Linked DNA regions of Homo sapiens: regions 2 and 3 are each linked to region 1. Evidence: promoter capture Hi-C in human tissues and cell types (Jung and others, 2019). All regions are on one chromosome and are shown on one strand. Each heading gives the region's core, a stretch centred on a gene start or on the middle of the fragment in contact. The rest is flanking DNA. Distances are from core to core; before and after follow the strand shown.

Region 1 (3,747 bases), core at 614-3,113:
GCCTGCTTCTACACAGAGAGGTGTAACCACACACAAGCAGGACAAGAACACCACCAAGGGCTGGGTCGGAGCCTCACTACCCTGTAGTATCCTTAGGCCTGCGGCCACACCAACAGACATAAAAGAGTATTCAAGCTGCTCCCGATTCACAGTTCCCTCAGGAACTGGTCGTAGGAGAGAAACTGAGAAGGCATCACCTCTTCACAAGCAGCCCCTCCACAGGAATAAGAGGAAATCTGACTCCTCGCAGAGAAAGGAAAAAAAGAGAAAACAGAAAGGCTCTAGGATCCACTCCCCGTATGGAACTCGCCCGGCACCAACCAGTACCTGTGCAGCTATCACTCTGGGAGGCCCCAGCATTTGCTTTGCTGGCCGTGACAGTGGCACGTCCCATTGTGCTGAAAGCTGAAGCCAGCGGGTCTCAATTCCACCCCTGAGCTAACACAAGGCTTCTTAATGCTCCTTTGCCATGTGTTGATCTTGCAACAGAATGTGGGACAGAAGATTTAAAAAGCTATGTGATGGGGGAAGGGCAGCCAGATCACCTTACACCAGGGCTTCTCCATCAAGCTTCCTTGGATTCCCTTTAGGGGCCAGTATTACTAGCTTCAAGGGAGGTTTTCCTCAAACTGGCACTGTAAGAGCACGTGTTGCCTCCGGGGACCCGCTTGGGAGGGGGCTAGAGGGGAGGCGGGGTGCAGTCTAAAGAATGTAGGCAAAACACACATCATCTCACCCTGCAAGGGACAGCAATGCCTTACTCCAATCTGAGCTCCCCAAAGGCTCTGACAAGTGGAGGCGCCAGCAGGGTCCAGCCTGGGGACCCAAGGGCTGGAGGTTCTTCCTACAGAAAAAGGGAAAGCAATGGGGGAAACCCAAATTAAAGTGACCACCGCATCATGGGCTCGGACTGCATCAGAACCCAGTGATGTCCCTGGCTGTATCCATGCCCGCCAGCCTCCCCTAGGTCTACAGCGGATCAGGCAGGATAACCCTGGAGACCTCCTCCAAGCCCACAGCCCGCCCCACCCTTAGGGCCTGCAAATATTACCGCCACAGAGCCTTGTCCCTTTTTCACAGATGGGGAAACTGAGGCATGCGGAGCAAATTACGGTGCTTTTTCAAACCAGGTTGAAGTTCACTTCTCCAGCCACAATTTTGCACTTTTTTTACAGCTTTATTACATTTCCGATTTCTCCAGATACACAATTGCTATTGCAAAGTGAATTTTAAACACCTCGGAAGGACTGAACTCAAAATGAGATGAGGGCAGTCTGGACGTCCAATAAGGCTGTCTTGACCGCAAGAAGAGGATGGGTGCCCCCCACCTCCAGCTTATCCCCCACCCCCTCCCCGGGGACGTTCAGGTTCGGTCGCTTCCCTTCCCTCAAGCCGCTTCCACCGCAACCCGAGGGCGGGGGGCGCAGCAGCGCGGCCCCGGGATCGCCGGGCGGGTTCCGAGGTCCCGGGGCTGAGACGGGCGCCGGGGGCTCGGGGACCCTCCCCGGCCGCTGAGGTGGCTGCGGCCGCGCGCCCAGCTCGGGGGCCGGGAACTTCTGGCGGCGCGGACCCCGCCGCCCCCGCCGCCCCAGCCACCGGGCGTGTGTGCAGCTCGGGCTTCCCTTTCTTTGCCTCGCCGCGAGTCGGGCGCGACCCCGAGGCGGCTCGGCCACTCACCATATTACAGATGGAGGCGATGTTTCGGACAGTCATTAGTCTAAAGGTTGCAGCGATCCCTCACCGCCATCTTTACAAGGGGAAACCGGGACTGCCCATGGTGGCGCGCTGGCGGGGAGGCCGGGCGGCAGCGCGGCGGCCTGGGGTCCGGCTTTCAGTTTGGCTGGGAGAGGGAGGCCGGGAGGAGGAGGCGGCGGCGCGGGGAGGGCGGGGAGGGAGCGCGGAGGGGCGGGGAGTGGCGGAGCGAGGGAGCCTGGGCCGCGGCCGGCGGCGCGGGGAGGAGGGGCGGCCCGGGCGCGCCGCGTGAGTCCGAGCCGGCCGCTCAGAGCGCTCCAGGCTGGGTTCCCGGGCCCCGCCGCGCCGCCTCCTTCCCAGCTCGCCCGCCCAGGCCTGGCCTCCTGCTTTTCCATTTGATTCCCTGCCTCTTTCTATTCGGACTGGAATGCCGGGCCAGGCTCCGGGGCGCGCCGCTGCGGCAGCCGCACCTCGCAGGTCCCCCGGCCGACCCCGACGCGGAAGCGGCGGCCCTCCTCGCCGTCGGGGAGCCAGGGAGCCGGGGACGGTACGGTGCGCGGGGTGGGGAAGCGGGCGGCCCAGGCCGGGGCGAACCCGGGGCCGCCTTCCGTCCTCGCTTTTTCCTCGTCGCCTTCCTCCTGGCGGGCCTCGGCAGCCCCCGGTGTTTATTTTTTGGCGAGGGGTAGGGGTGGCGACGTCCAACTTTTAGTTCCTCCCGAGGGTTCCAACCAGATGGCACCGGCGGGGACCCAAGAAGTAAAATGGGGCGAGGACACCGGAGCGGTCAGAGAGCCCTCGCCAGCTGCGGGCCGGGCGCCCGAGAAAGGGCGCCGGGAAGGGGGAGGAATCCGGGTCTGGGCGGAGGCCAGCAGCGGCGCGCTCGGGCGGCTTGTGACATTAGCGGGTCCAAAGGAGACGTCCCGGTTCCGCGCAAGCACTAGGGACTGTCCAAGGAGTGGAAAGAACGAAAACAAAACTTTTCCATATCTTCAAGGCAGGCATACCCCTCTCGGGTGCACCCAGCCTCTAGTTGTTGAGATGGGCGCTGTATGGGATCATGCACATTTCCCGCATTAAAGGTCGTGGCTGCGGGCTCAGAGCGCGAGTCTGTGCACCACTTAGCAGATAGGTCCACGCGAATTGAAGGGGCCCGTTTCTGAATGTGTGGAACAGTTACACATACAAGGTTGCAATTCGATGCTTTCAAAGGAGAAATTGTACAAGTGAGATGCGTGATAAATTCTTAGATCAGTGTATTTAATGACAAATTGAATCAGAAGAAAAATTAGTTGAAGATAGCTTTTATCTAACCAAGAGTAAAGATTTGAGAGCCGTTGATTGCTAATATCCCTAGAATCTGGGGAGGAAACAGTAAGACAGACTTGTTGACTGAAGGTTTTGGGAGTCATGTCACTGTGTTTTCCAGTGGACATGAGAAATAATATTCCTGCTTAAGTCTTTCAACCTAAATATTATTTCCAAATACATCCTGATGATAATTTCTTCCATTGTAAGTCATGACTGATTTTCTTCTCTCTCTCTCTGTTTTTTAAGAGACAGGTTCTCGCTATGTTGCCCAGCCTGAGGCTGGGCAGCCCCGAGTCATCCCAAACTCCTGGGCTCCAGCAATCATCCCACCTTGGCCTCCCAAAGCGCTGGGACAACAGGCGTGAACCACTGCACCCAATGTTTACATTCCTGATCTCCTTTAATCGCCACCATAACTATCAGCTGGTACATGCTATTATCTCCTTTTTTGCAGATCAGTCACATAAGGCTTAGAGGATCAAGGATCCTGCCCAGATGACTTACCGAAATGTTACAGATTAAGTTGGTGTGGTAACCTGGGCTGAGCACTCTGGGAGAGGAAGAGAAGAGAGAAGACAGGAAACAACTGAACTATGACCAATCCCAGCACGGAGGCCCAGAAAACTTTAAGATTTGAGTATTAATGTCTCAAGGTCAGGAGCAACCTCAAGGCTAAAACTCAGATCTCAGGACTCAATTTCACAGAAGTTCCACTATAAAGGCAATAATCTAAAGCTTTAAATGATA
Region 2 (3,747 bases), core at 726-3,225, 1.3 Mb after region 1:
TGGCATTACCAGTGGAATATATGCATTATATTGTGTAATCCTCATAAGTACTTCTTGAAACAGGTACTATTAACAAATCCATTTTACAAATGAGGAAATGGAGGCACAGAGCTGTTAAGTAACATTTCCAAAGCCACACAGCTGGAGAGTGGCAGAACCAGAATTAGATTCCAGTCTGACCCCAGTGAGATTCCCTGATAATGTTCCAGATAATTATTTAGAATTGTTAGTAGGCTAGTCTTTCAGTTTAACAAAGGGCAAAACAGTCTTTCTATACCTCTATTCCTTCGATCTTACATACTCTTTGGTCTCATTGCTAAACAGTGAAACAGTTGAGTTCTTTATTTAAGGAATTTTTACTTGCTAGCTTTACAGGTTAAAACAAATTAACATTGGAGCTTGCTAATTTTGGCTTATTTCAGGGTCAGAATGAGCTTCATCAATGACAGATTTGACCAGGTCCACTCACATTCTCAAAATCTTTCAATAGCTTCAGGCTAGAGTCAAAAAAATTTCAGCATGATACACTTGTCCCTTCTCCCTTTCCTGACCTTATCTCTTGATGCTTCTGCACAATTCATTAAACAGGTATTTTGTACCAGACCATCTCCCCATATTTTCCAATCATACAGAAATCATCAGTACTTTTTTAACACAGCCTTTTCATGTGTTAAGCTTCAACCCATGCAACCTATGACCTTTCCACCCCAAATATATTGCTCCTTTGAAGATCCACCCTATCACTTACTTTCCTTGATTATTAGCACTTTTCATACCATGTTACATGCTTATTCCTCCAGCCTCAACTCTTTAGAAACCAAAAGGCATTATTCTCTTTGCTATCCTTTATACTTGGCATGATGCCCGAGGTTGGGCCAAGCTTAGACCTTAGACCATTTCTTCACCAAATTCAAATGTCTCCCATTTCTTTAGTAATTGGTATGGTTTGGGTCTGTGTTCCCCCACAAATCTCGTGTTGAACTGTAATCCCCAATGTTAGAAGAGGGGCTTTGTGGGAGGTGACTGGATCATGGGGGCAGATTTTTCCCTTGCTATTCTGGTAATAGTGAGTTCTCACAAGATCTGGTTGTTTATAAAAATGTGTAGTACCTCCCCCTTCATTCTCTCTTCCTCCTGCTCTCGCCATGTAGGAAGTGCCTGCTTCCCCTTTGCCTTCTGCCATAAGTTTCCTGAGGCCTCCCCAAAAGCCAAGCAGAAGCCGTCATGCTTCCCGTACAGCCTGTGGAACTATGAGTCAATTAAACCTCTTTTCTTTATGAATTACCCAGTCTCAGGTACTTCTTTATAGCAGTACAAGAACAGAGTAACACAGCAACACATTTCTAGTTCTGTTACTGCACTCAAAAAATCTAAGTTTAATAAATTGTGCATTAGTCATAATGGAGGACAATTGGTTTTCAGATTATTTTCCAAAAATTTATTGTGGATCAGAAGATAACTGGATTTTTTGGATGTGTGCTTCTCAACCAGCAATGTAAGTTCAATAGGTCTTTGGGTTACAGCAGTGTCAACTCTTAAAGTAAACTACGATTTTTTTTTTTTTTTTTTTTTTTTTGAGGAAGTCGTCTTCTGCTTTGCCAGGCCACTGGTTATACATGATTAGGGGACACAGTGTAATAATGAGTCTCCTTGATAACTAGTAATAATGAATCCTAATACCAAAATGCCAATACCAAAAACAAAACACCTCACAGTAGAATGATTACTTGGGGAAGCAGACTGAAGAGCATAGGAACTAGTTACTACTCTCTTTTGTATATTGAAACTTGAAATTGATGCAAAAGCAATAAAAATATTCTTTAAAGCTAAAAATGTAGTTGCTGGGGATAACAGAAATAAAGTCATACAGCTAGTGTGAAATAACTGAGACAATTTATCTATTTAAATATAATGGGCTGTCCTATGAAGAAAAACATATCAAAAGAGTGGCTTTTAAGCATAGATTAAAAAAATTGGTCCAGATTCCTTTCAGTTTCAGGAAAAAAGGTTAATCATGTATTTTAAAACTGTTAAAACTAGGGACAAAGAAAACACACTTGGCATTAAAATGTCAGTAAGTTTTTGAAAAAGATTACCTTGGAAAAGCAATTTTTGTGAGTAAATAAATTTGCTGTAATAGTATGTTCTATCTTCTTCATATTAGCAGTCTCCTATTTCTATAGGATTTGTTTAAAAAACTTCAACAATTATATCAAAGTTTCAAAAAGTTCAAAGCCTTAAACCTCTTGTTGAAGAAAGCAAAAGAACCATTTTGTCAAAACAAACATAAAAACTCAAATTCTGAAATCTAAATGTTATTCCAAGACTATGATTGACTTCCTCTATCTCGCCAACACTTTTAACTATTTAAAAATTGTCTTTTTCGTTGTATTCCGTTTTAAGCTGTTATGATTTTATATATCACCCCAAAATACTCTAAATAATTTTTTTTTTTTTTTGGCAGGGGGACTGGGTCTCATTGCTGCCCAGGCTGGAGAACAGTGGCGTGACCACGGCTCACTGCAGCCTCAACCATCCTGGCAGCTGGGACCACAGGTATGCACCATCATTCCCAGCTTTTTTACATGTTATTTTTATTTGTAGAAATGGGTTCTCCCTATGTTGCCCAGGCTGCTCTCAAACTCCTGGGCTCAAGGGATCCTCCCACCTTAGCCTCCCAAGTAGCTGGGACTACAGGCGCATACCACCATGCCTGGCTAATTTTTAAAAGTTTTTTTAGAGATGGGGTCTCACTGTGTTGCCCAGGCTGGTCTTGTGGGCTCAAGCGATCCTTCTGTCTCAGCCTCTCAAAGGGCAGGGATTACAGGCGTGAATCACTGCAGCCAGCTCTTTAAACAAATTTTAACATACTATTAAATTATCAGTAAATAGGTTTTAACAATGTCAGCTCCTTTACTTCATCTTTCTGTTCAATTAATTAAAACCATTCTCTAATTGATTTTGAATGATTTAATGTCATTTGATCCTGATACAAATTTATTCCAAAAATGCAATTTTGATGAGAACATTAGAATTTTAATTAACATGGACTTACTAAAAAAAGTAGTTCAATAGGGGAAACAAAGGAAAGAACCAAAACACTGTTCATGTCTATCCACTCATGTGTGAAAATGTAGCATTCAAAAATGACAGCACATTTGAAGCATAATTATAGGGACACCATAGTGGTGGAAGAAGACAGTGTAAGAAAGACAACTGTCAGAGTGCGGTACTCTGGAACATCAAAAGGCTATATTCGTCATTGATGGCTGTTTCTTTGAGAACTCCCAAACTATGTAAGTTTCTGAAACTGCTCCAGGCATTCAATAAAGCAAAAAGTACACTTATAAAAGTGTTTAAAACTTTGTGATTTTTCAAGTATATTTTATAGTTTTATCAAAAATATATCTAAAGTTTTTTTTTAAGTAGCTAAATTTTCAAACTGCACAATGACAAGCTCTTAAATGGGGGATTCTGGTCAAAAGGCATTTGGTCAGCAAAAACAATTTTAGATACTGTAGTTTTCTGCTACTAGTTAACACACTTGAAATTTATATGATACACAATTGTGCTCACAGAAAATATATTCCTCAATCATGGTCTAAAGCCAGAAGGTTATTAGTACTGATGCCAACGACCAAAAGTAGGGCCTTTCCTGTCATTTCTCAGGCACCTGCTTGTCATTTACCCTCAAATGACAGCCTGCGGACAGCCAGGTCCCTTGGGCACAGAGTTCTTGATTCCAAC
Region 3 (3,747 bases), core at 877-3,376, 1.1 Mb after region 1:
TTGACCCTGAAGATTTCTTTTACAAATCTTAGTGTCCTCAAGGAGAATTAGGAGCCTTGACTTTGGAGTGGGAAAGGCTAAGGTTTGAATCCTACGTCTGCTGTCTCTGACCTTAAGCAAGTTATTTAAATTTCGAATCTGTTTTTCCTAAAATGACAATAGTATCTATTTCTGAGGATTGAGGTGGGTGTAAATGAGTTTGTAGAGCACACATAAAAAGTGTTCAATAAATGATAACTATTGACTTTAAGAATAATTTTATTACTATAAAATACTATCCCTTATACTATGAAGAAATTATTCAAGCTAGAATTTTTAGCTTTGCTAATTTACAAAATAATCAGATAGTACAATTTCAGCTAAATCCTGAGGTTATATGTAGTTCTAAAGTTTGGAATTAAAAAATTGAATTATGATAGGAAGTAACTTTTTAAATGGTTGGAGGAAATCTGCCTGTAATGAGATACAATTACTACTTATTACACTGAATCCAGATGCAGAGTCAGTGTGTCATTTTCTTCTTTGTACTGAAAATCTTTTTATTTTAAAGGTGAAGCAACACATAGTCTTTTATCCATAACTTAGTGTAGCACAATCTTAGAAAGCCTAAGGCAAATGTGACTTTTCTATGCATGTATGTGTATTTTGAAGAATGTGTAAAACTTATGCTAATGTTTGCACGCGACAACGATATTAGAAAAATAGTCATGTCCTTTTTTTGTAGCCACTTTTCTTCCATACAGGTCCATAAACCTGATGTTACTTACAGAAGAAGCTTTAGATCTAGAATTACTTCCTTTTGAGAACTGATATGCTATGTGATATAGTCTGTGTTTATAAGCGGAAGGCACCTCTTTGGGTAAACATTTCTTTCCACATAATTGAGCTTTTTTTTGCTTATGTCAGTGAGGGGTGATATTTATATTAATAAAACATTATACTTTTAGTGTTTGTAGCACTAATTTGGAATTCCTGATTAAATGTGCCATGAATGTTGTCTTAATTTTTTTTTAAAAAAAGACATAGAGTGAATGAATGGGATTTAAAAACAAAACCCAACTCTATGCTGCCTATAGGAGACTCACTTCAATTTTAAGGACACACATTGTCTGAAAGTAAAGGAATAGAAAAATGTTTTATATAAATGAAACCAAAAAAGAGCAGGGATAGCAATAGTTAAATTAAACAAAATAGATTTTAAGTCAAAAACTGTAAAAACGAGACCAAGAAGGACATTTTATAATGGTAAAGGGGTCAATTCATCAACAGGATAAAATGATTGCAAATATATATGCATGATGGCTGGGTGCAGTGGCTCATGCCTGTAATCCCAGCACTTTGGGAGGCCGAGGTAGGCAAATCGCTTAAGCTGAGGTCAGGAGTTTGAGACCAGCCTGGCAACATGGCAAAACCCCACCTCTACCAAAAATACAAACACGTGTATGGTGGCGCATGTGTGGTCCCAGATACTCAGAGATTCACTTGAGCCCAAGAGGCAGAGGTTGCAGTGAGCCAAGATCAAGCCACTGCACTCCATTCTCGGTGACAGAGTGAGCCCCCATCTCAAAAAAAAAAAAAAAAATATATATATATATATATATATATATATGCATGCAATAATGGCACACCTAAATATATAAAGCAAATATTTAAAAATCTGAAGGAGATATAGACTGCAATAGAATAATAGTGTAGGGGACTTCAATATACCACTTTTGGTAATGGACAAATCATGCAGAGAGAAAATAAACAAGTAAACATCGGACTTAAACAGCATTCAAGAACAAATGGATCTAACAGACATATATAGAGCATTCCATCTAACATCAACAGAATACACATTCTTCTCAAGTACATAAAACATTCTCCAGAATAGATCATATGTTAGGCCACAAGACAAGTCTTAGTAAACTTAAGAAGACTGAAGTCATATCAAGTACTTTTTTGACCACAATGGTATGAAACTAGAAATCAATAGCAGAAGAAATTTTAGAAAATTCACAAATACATGGAAATTAAACAACATGCTCCTGAATAACCAATAGGTCAATAAAGAAATTAAAATGGAAATTTAAAATTATCTTGAGACAAATGAAAATAGAAACACAACATACCAAAACTTATGGGTTTAGCAAAAGCAGTTCTAAGAAAAAAATTTAAAGCAATAAATGCCTACGTCAAAAGAGAAGAAAGATTGCAGATAAACAACTTAGTGCTATGCCTCAAGGAAATAGAAAAGGAAGTACAAAGTAAGCCTAATGTTAGCAAAAAGAAATAAATAATAAAAATCAGAGCAGAAATAAATGAAACAGGGACTCATAAAACAATATAAAAGAACAATGAAACTAAGAGTTGTTTTTTTTAAAGATTAGCAAAACTGACAAACCTTAACAAAAGCTAGACTAATCAAGAAAAAAGAGAAAAGTTCCAAGTAAACAAAATTTCAAGTGAAAGCAGAGACATTACAACTGACACCACAGAAATACAAAGGATCATAAATGACTGCTGTGAATAATTACATGCCAAAAATTGGATAACCTAAAAAAAGGATAAATCCCTAGACACATGCAATCTACCAAGACTGAATCATGAAGAAATAGGAAATCTGTACAGACTAATAACAAGTGAGATCAAATCAGTAATAACTTTCCCATCAAAGAAAAGCCCTTGACCTGGGAGTTTTACTGCTGAATTCCACCAAACATTTAAAGAAGAACTAATACTAATTCGCTATAAACTTTTCAAAAAACTGAAAAGGAGGGAACACTATGAAGCTCTTTTTATGAAGCCAGCATTACCCTGATTTCAAAGCCAGACAAGGACCTCCCAAGACAGGAAAACTACAGGTTAATACCATTGATGAAGAGATGCAAAAATTCTCAACAAAATACTGGCAAACTGAATTCAACAATACATTAAGAGGATCATTCACCATGATCATGTAGGATTTATCCCTGGAATGCAGAATGATTTATGGTTTGCAAATCAATAAATGTGATATACCACGTTGACGGAACAAAAAGAGAAAAACCATATGATCATCTCATTAGATCCATGAAAGTATTTGACAAAATTCAACTTTCATGATAAAAATATTCAACAAATTAGGTATAGAAGGAATGTACTTCAGCATAATGAAGACCATATATAATAAGTCCATAGCTAAGATTATACTCAATGATAAAAAAATCAAAACTCTTTCCTCTAAGACTCAGAGAAAGATAAGGATATCTAATCTACACTTCTATTCGATGTAGTATTGGAACTCCAACAAAACAAGAAAAAGAAATAAAAGGCATCCTAATAGGAAAGGAAGTAAAACTGTTGCTGTCTGCTGATGTTATGGTCTTATATATAGAAAACCCTACAAATTCCACCAAAAAAAACCTGTTAGAGATGATAATCTAAGTAAAGTTGCAAGATACTAGATCAACATACAAAAATCTGTAGCATTTCTCTTTACTTACAACAAACTTTCCAGAAAGGAACTTAAGAGAACAATCCCACTTAAAATAGCTACAAAAAATAATGAAATAAAATACTTAGGAATAAGTTTAATCAAGGAAGTGAAAGATATGTACACTGAAAACTATAAAACATTGATAAAAGAAATTGAAAAAGACACAAATAGATGAAAAACTATCTTTTGTTCTTGGATTAAAATAATTAATATTATCAAAATGTCGATACTACCCAAAGTGTTGTACATATTAAATGCAATTTCTATCAAAAGTTCAATGCCATTTT

The links. The method cuts DNA at HindIII sites, captures the fragments that hold promoters and counts their contacts. A contact is called where the count stands out against the background at its distance.
Region 2: a fragment that was not itself captured here is called in contact with the fragment with the promoter of USP46 in region 1 in 1 of the 25 tissues and cell types used here (lymphoblastoid cells).
Region 3: a contact is called between a fragment that was not itself captured here and the fragment with the promoter of USP46 in region 1, in 1 of the 25 tissues and cell types used here (heart left ventricle).

What each region holds. Positions count from the first base shown.
Region 1 is chr4:52,657,438-52,661,184 of GRCh38, forward strand. USP46 (ubiquitin specific peptidase 46) reads right to left here and starts at 1,864. Exons shown (of 9, transcript NM_022832.4): 1 at 1,678-1,864. The coding sequence starts at 1,713. It overlaps USP46-DT (USP46 divergent transcript), which reads left to right and starts at 1,969. Exons shown (of 2, transcript NR_125363.1): 1 at 1,969-2,239; 2 at 3,455-3,747. RefSeq lists silencers at 1,318-1,837, 1,848-2,277. The HindIII fragment of the contact is 4,724 bases long and covers 1-3,747 here.
Region 2 is chr4:53,993,380-53,997,126 of GRCh38, forward strand. No RefSeq gene overlaps it. Among named protein-coding and RNA genes, the nearest start is that of CHIC2, 69 kb to the right of the region's middle. The HindIII fragment of the contact is 3,811 bases long and covers 71-3,747 here.
Region 3 is chr4:53,756,809-53,760,555 of GRCh38, forward strand. No RefSeq gene overlaps it. Among named protein-coding and RNA genes, the nearest start is that of LNX1-AS2, 170 kb to the left of the region's middle. The HindIII fragment of the contact is 4,901 bases long and covers 1-3,747 here.